2 separate regions of the Homo sapiens genome follow, and region 2 is linked to region 1. Evidence: promoter capture Hi-C in human tissues and cell types (Jung and others, 2019). All regions are on one chromosome and are shown on one strand. The core of a region is centred on a gene start or on the middle of the fragment in contact, and the rest is flanking DNA. Distances in the headings are between cores, read along the strand shown. Region 1 holds the start of SLC25A43 (solute carrier family 25 member 43). Region 2 has its middle 44 kb from the start of SLC25A43.

What was found. Contacts are between HindIII fragments. The study calls those that stand out against the background at their distance.
Region 2: a contact is called between a fragment that was not itself captured here and the fragment with the promoter of SLC25A43 in region 1, in 1 of the 25 tissues and cell types used here (pancreas).

The regions. Positions count from the first base shown.
Region 1 is chrX:119,397,387-119,401,000 of GRCh38, forward strand. It overlaps SLC25A43 (solute carrier family 25 member 43), which reads left to right and starts at 1,950. Exons shown (of 5, transcript NM_145305.3): 1 at 1,950-2,292. The coding sequence starts at 2,018. RefSeq lists a silencer at 1,814-2,473. The HindIII fragment of the contact is 7,658 bases long and covers 1-3,614 here.
Region 2 is chrX:119,353,683-119,357,296 of GRCh38, forward strand. No RefSeq gene overlaps it. Among named protein-coding and RNA genes, the nearest start is that of SLC25A43, 44 kb to the right of the region's middle. The HindIII fragment of the contact is 4,365 bases long and covers 1-3,614 here.

The DNA of each region.
Region 1 (3,614 bases), core at 700-3,199:
TTCAAGGTTAAAATAGGCCAGGCGCGGTGGCTCATGCCTGTAATTTCGGCACTTTGGGAGGCCGAGGCAGGTGGATCATCTGAGGTCAGGAATTCGAGACCAGCCTGGCCAACATGGCGAACCCCATCTCTACTGAAAATACAAAAAAATTAGTTGGGTATGGTGGCACATGCCTGTAGTCCCAGCTACTTAGGAGGCTGAGGCAGGAGAATCGCTTGAACCTAGGAGGCAGAGGTTACAGTGAGCCAAGACCATGCCACTGCACTTCACCCTGGGCGACAGAGCGAGACTCTGTCTCAAAAAAAAAAAAAACATAACTTGGCTGACCCAATCTCCATACAATGGGGTTATCACATGAAATGTTCCAGACCCACGAACTTCCTGAAAGAGCTTTAGAATCTTGTCCCGTTATCCAACAAAGGGCTTTAGGAAGTACCAGTACCCGAAGGTTTCCTTATTGTAATCCCCAAATTCCAATTCAAGCCCTTTTAAAGTCGGGGTCCTCCGGTCTTCAGAGTCATACATCTTTCTCAAGCTTCCCCCAGCCATCAAATTAGCTTACAACAAGACAGAAGAATTCACAAAACATGAAAATAAGCATTCCCCAATTGTTGAGAGCAGAGTATGGCTTCTGCAACTAGAACAAGTTCTCACAGTCAAAACCTTGTAATGTCATACTCAAGTGAGATTGACAGTGAAAAATAAAAAAGGAGAAACCCTGCAATGCCTTTTAGAAAACGTTCCTATAGCATTGTGTGTTAGTAAATGTAAATAACTATACAAGCCTAAAAACAACTATGTACCCGGAACATCTTGCTCACACCAACAGACTGCTGACAGTTCCTTTCCTTGTAATTATTAGTGACATGGCTTTTTTAGAAAAAAAAGAGACAGAAAGAAATTCTGAAATTCTGAAATTTTTGAACTGATTAAAGAATCCTCGGATTCTGGCCAAGCCTCTCTTAGCCATTCTTTGCCTCTATTGTTCTCTTAGCTTACAGAACCACTGAAAATGTCCCTACTGGAGTTAACTCTGCAGTCCTAGTAGACATATAGTGTAGCCGTTAGTGGAAACTGACATAAACCGCCCTAGATTTCAAACCGGTCTCTGCTTTGTAGGTAGCTGTGTGAGCCTGAGCAAGTCCTCTCTGTGTCTTGGTTTCCTCTCCTGTAAATGAATACCTAATCAGAACTAACACATATAAACTGCTTACCCATACCAGTCATTGTTCATTAATCCTTACAACAACCCCTAGGAGGAAAAAATTATAATCTCTGTTTTATAAAGCAACTGACACACAGAGAGGTTGAGTGACTTCCCCAAGGTCCCACAGCTGGTAAGCTGCAGAGCCAAGAATCTTACACAGGTTCAAGAGTCCAGATTCAAGTCCCCACACCCACACAGCCTCTGTCAATGAGGACATACGTACTTAGGGCCGTTTTGAGGATTACATGAGAACGTCTGTAAAGCCCAGTACTTGACAAGTGCCTGAGAGATAGCAACTGTGGTTGTTAGAATTTTTTACCTTCTGCACTGGGAAACCATCAAGGCTTTTTGGTTAGGCAGGAAAAAAAAATGGGTTGGAGGCAAGAGGAGGAGGAGGGAAGCGCCAGGGGAGGAAGACAGAGAAGTGGCACGTGAAAGGGAGAAAAGGGGCAAACCAGAGGAGAGGCAGGGAGGGGCGGCGGGGGCGCACTGAACATTTAGGAAGCAAGATGTCTAGCAGGCTGGGCCTTGAGAGAACAGTAACTGTTTCGCAACTGAAAGTCGCTACTCGAGCCTTGCCAACTGGGGAGACTATGCCCATGATATCCGCGGCCTCGGACCCCGGACCCTCCAGGCCCTCGCGCCCCACCCCCGACCAGCCTCGGGCCAGGCTAGGGCGTAGACGGGGCTTCCCGTCCCTCACGCGGGCCCGCCCCATGCCGGGCGGGGCCTGGGGCCCGCCACCTCCGCCCGTGGCCGGAGAGCCCCAGGCCCGAGCCACGCGGTCTTCCGGGCCCGGGTCGGGGCTCGATGGCTACGTGGAGGCGGGACGGCCGACTGACAGGCGGCCAAAGGCTGCTGTGCGCTGGGCTGGCGGGGACGCTCAGCCTCAGCCTCACCGCGCCCCTGGAGCTCGCCACCGTGCTGGCCCAGGTTGGCGTCGTGCGAGGCCACGCCCGGGGACCGTGGGCCACAGGGCACCGGGTGTGGCGGGCAGAGGGGCTCCGGGCCCTGTGGAAGGGGAACGCGGTGGCGTGCCTGCGCCTCTTCCCCTGCAGCGCCGTGCAGCTCGCCGCCTACCGCAAGTAAGAGCCGGGCGGGGCCGGGGAACCGGGAGACCGGACGGGGGTGGGGTGGGGGAGCCGCGGCCCGACGCCGCCCTGCTGCCTGGACTCGGGGCCCTGGAGTAGGGACGGCCCCCTTGTCGATCACCTGGGGACCCCTCGGGGCGGTGGGCCACCTCTATGGCCCCCAGAGTGCAGCCCCAATGCTTTTCACGTTCTCTTGGGGTTACCGCCCTGCAAGATGCAGTTTTGTGGTCCGCAGCCCTGGTCCGAGAGGCTTTCCGGATTGGACCGGGCGAGGAGGTGGAATGCAGCAAAGGATTTGGAGGAAAGGAATGAAAAGCTCTCCAGAGAGATGAGTCCTAACCATTTCCACCGTCCTCCAATTTGGAAACTTTTGCTTAGGCTGGCTTAGGAAGAGAGAGACCCTTTTAAAGGTGTTTTTGTCTGTGTGACCCAAGCCCCGAGAAGAAAGTGCTTGGTGTGGGGAAAGGACCCGATCCATCGATACGAAAAGGCCGCAGATTTTTGCCCACACATCTCCCCAACTTAAATGAAGCTTGACTTCAGGCTCCGACAGAGGCTGCAGCTTCCCCTCCCCAAGCTGAGAACGGCCCCCTCAGCCTACCGCTTCACCCCACTGGCCTCATTTATTTGGGCCTTTTCCACCTTCTCCCACATCAACAGCTGCTCCTTAGGAAAAGATCTAAAGGTGTAAATGCAGCCTTAAAGCTTCCACCGAGCTCAGAGGTACCTGCATTTGAACTGGAAACCAAGCCTGAAAGAATGAATTGGTAGTGATGGCATTTCAGGAAGCAGAGATGTTTCTGTATTGGGGGGACGGTCCCTGTGTTCCTCATTCAGTGGGCACAGTGGCATCTTTGATATCGCCTTGGCTCTGAATTAGACAAACAGCCCACATTTGGGAGAGTCGGTCTTGACCGCATAGTTTAGTCTTGGCGGCTAATAGTCAAAGGATTTTGCCTTGACACTGTCACTCACCTGGGAGGCCAGAGGTGGAAGGCTCACCTGGCAGCCGACAAGCCGAACGGAATCATCCTTATTACCTAGGCCTCTAGGCCAGTACTCATTTTGCCTCTGCCTGGAAATAGAGTTCCCTTCTCTTCCTCTGCAGAGGGACTCATGGGTGGGACCATGACATTTAGTTAAGGCCCTTTTTCCTCCCCACCTCTGCTTGCCCTCATCAACATCTGGCCTGCAGTCTGTAAACAGTTCTCCTCTGAGTCTTAATGACTCAGTTTCTCCCCCACTTCACCCTCTTCTCTACAAAGTAGTGTGGAAATCTTCCTTTGGATGGGATAAAATATGTCCAGAGGGGTGGG
Region 2 (3,614 bases), core at 789-3,288, 44 kb before region 1:
ACTAGATACTAATAATCTTTTAATCTTTGCCACCCCGGTAGGTTTGTAAAAATAGCAATATGATTTTAATTTGCATGACTTTGATCACCAGTGAAGCAGAACACATTTTAATCTTTATTTCCATTTATATTTCTTACTTTGTATCACAACTGGGTCCTTTCCAATTTTTTCTATTTAAGCTTGTATCTTTTTATGTTAATCAATTAGTTAGAATCATCTCATATAGGCTGCAAATATTTTTTTCTAAATATATTGTTTGAATTTCAACATTATTTATGGTATTTTAATAGAGTTTTAAAATGTGGTCTATGCTTTCATTCTTTTCTTTTAATGGTTTCTGCCTCCAGCATCACATCTGATTGTTTTTTTTTTTAACAAAAGCCAGAGAAATAGGTTTTCAGATTATTAACCCAAAGCTTAAAGAGAGCACGTTCCCTTTTCATAGCTAATCAGGTATCTGCAATGGAAACAAAATTTCCCCTCCCCATTCCCAACTTTAATCAAAATGTTTTTCTCCTTATGTTACTGACAAAAAAAAAAGCCACTGCCTAATTGAGACTTCTGTGTATTCAATTAATGCTTCTGTGCATTTGGCCTGACAACGTCCAGGGGCTAATGGGACCATGTGCTATCTTTAACAAAGATGAGAGTACAAACATGAGTAAGACAGCCTATTATGGGCTTTCTGGGGCCTTTTAAAAATATTACATTTTCAGCATGTGAATTACACCAAATGGTGGCAACACAGGTTTCTGGGGTTTAATGCATTTCAGTTCATTCCATTTATAAAGCAAAATTGAAATAAAGTAATTCTATTCCAAAATATGTTTTAATCGTGAGTTTTTGAAAGCTCTTTAGGTAAGATGTTTTTGCCTTGCATGATTTAGAAAATTAACTGGGTTTCCACAGTATTTGAATACTGCAAGTTGAACTTACTTTCAATCTAAAAGCAGGCAGAAGAGAATTTTGATGTAAACTGAATTATTCGAGTAATTTTCTTAATGATTAAGAAGTCAACTCAAAAAAACAAATGCTAGCCACTGCCTATAGAATAAAGAGTTATCAATCCTTGTTTTTCCAAAGTAGTCCATATGTTTTAGAGGTAAATTTTGAAGTAAATTTGAAGTAAATGTCCAAAGTAAGAAAAATAAAATCGAACATTCAGACTTCAATTACTGCAAAAAAGATTTACAAAAATCTTTCAGATCACAAGAAATTGTTAAAACAACAGAACCCAAAAACAGAGGAGAAAGGAAAAAGTATGGGTTGTGAGGTTAATTCCAGCAGGTCTAGAATTAGCCCTAGTTGTTTTATTGAAGTTCTGGCATGACACTGACCTCCTATCAAGACACAAAACATACTGGTTAATGGTGTTGTTTTGTAGCCATGAGTCTTCAGATTCATGGTGGTTTGTCCGAGCTTGTCGACATTATGTATTGGTAACAGTGAGACTGATTATTTGTACCTGGTCTCAGTGTGACACCTGTCCCTCCCTCAAAGGGCTCTACTGTTAAGGCTAAAATATGCCTGTGTGACTGTCAAAAAATTGTTTAAAACCCATCTGAGAGTCCATTTTGGACTCCCTGGTTCTGAGGTGTTCTGTGCACATGTCAGTGGTTCCTGGTCCAAGTGATAAAGTGCATCCTGCTGTCACGGCTCTTAGAGAGGAGGACAATAGGATCCTGTACCTGACCACTCCAGACCCCTGGCTGTATCCTTTTCCTGTAGTAAACTATATACTTGAGAGTAATGCCATTTGAGTCCTCTAAGTCTCCTTTAGCAATGGAACCCTGTTCACTTGCCATAGTTAATGCAGCATGAAAAAGTCATCCAGGAGAGTGGAAGAGATTATTAGTGGGCATACACATTGTTCAAAAATAGTGCTGAAAAAAATGGTGCTGGGACAAATAGTGTAGTAGATGTGTCTGCCCAGGTAACAGTGATTCTTCCCAGAGAACTTCTATCTTCTATCTTCTCCTTTCCAATTCATAAGGTTTCAGGAGTGGGTCCACAACAGCCATGTACACATTAAGTGACCCATGTTCCCTAGCCAAAGCTAGTTGGATCAGAGGTGAACCCCTGACCCAAGCTAGACTGATCAGAGTCTCTTCCAGTCTGAAGGGTTGGCATCTTTAAGTGAGGAAACCTAAAAGCTCACGTGTTGAGCTTTGGTATACACAGCTTCCACCAACAGGACCAAGTAGCCGAGAAAGCCCAGCCACAGAGATGAATGAAGCCAAGGCTCAGAGGGCAGCAGAGCTGAGGAATGGCAACAAGCTACTCTTTGCATTCCTGACACCATTTCCTTCTCTGATTCCAGCCGTTTGGGAGATTAAGCTCCATCCAAGATCTGGGTTCCAGAGAAATACTCCATATTCTTATAATAAATTCCTTTTTTTTCCCCCATCAAGCTAGCTTGAGTTAGCACCTTTACTAGCACCTAAATATCCTTAACTCACTAGCCATGTAGAAACATATAGAGCTAGATCCCTACCTCACTGCCTGCCCAAAAATACATTCCAGATGGAATTAAGATTTCAATTTCAAAATAAAACAATATAGGGAGTAAAATCAAATGTAGGAGAATTTATTTATTTATTTATTTATTTATTTATTTATTTGAGACCGGGTTATGTGTTGCCTAGGCTGATCTCGAACTCCTGGCCTCAAGCGAGCCACTCACCTCAGCCTCCCAAAGTGTTGGGGTTACAGTTGTGAGCCACTGTGCCCCAGCCAGGAGAATATTTTTATAATCTTGGAATCTACAATCAAAAATAAAAAAGATTTAATCATTTGCCTGTATGACATTTGAATACTTATAAACAGCCAAAACACAGCATAAACAAAGCCAAGAAGCATAAAAATAGGGAAAGTATTTGTAACAAATATACAAAGCAAATGACTAGTATTGGTAATACACAAAGGACTGTTATAAATTAATAAGATTGGCCAGGCACAGTGGCTCACGCCTGTAATCCCAGCACTTTGGGAGGCTGAGGCGGGTGGATCACCTGAGGTCAGGAGTTCGAGACCAGCCTAGCCAACATGGTGAAACCCCATCTCTACCAAAAATACAAAAATTAGCCAGGCGTGGTGGGCAGGTGCCTGTAATCCCAGCTACTCGCGAGGCTGAGGCAGGAGAATTGCTTGAAGCCGGGAGGTGAAGGTTGCAGTGAGCCGAGATTGCACCATCGCACTCCAGTCTGAGGGACAAGAATGAGACTTCGTCTCAAAAAAAAATAAATAAATAAAATTAATAAGATTAAAAAGGCAGGCAAATCGACAAAGGATGAAAATTGAGAAATCATAGAAGGCAAGTTACAAATTACCAGCAAACATATTATATGAAAAGATGTTCAACCTGACACTTATTTAAGAAATAGAAATGAAAACTACAGATTGGCAGATATTAAAAAGATTAATAGCCCTAGTGATGACAAGGTTTTAGAAAAACATATACTGTCTTTTAACTATTGTTAAAAACTTTTTGGAGTGTGATTTGGCAATATCAATTAAAATTTTAAATACACAATAACTTTTGACATCAGTAATTCCACTGCTGGGAATTTATCCTACAGAAAATCACATAATGTGCATGACACTATATAATAAGG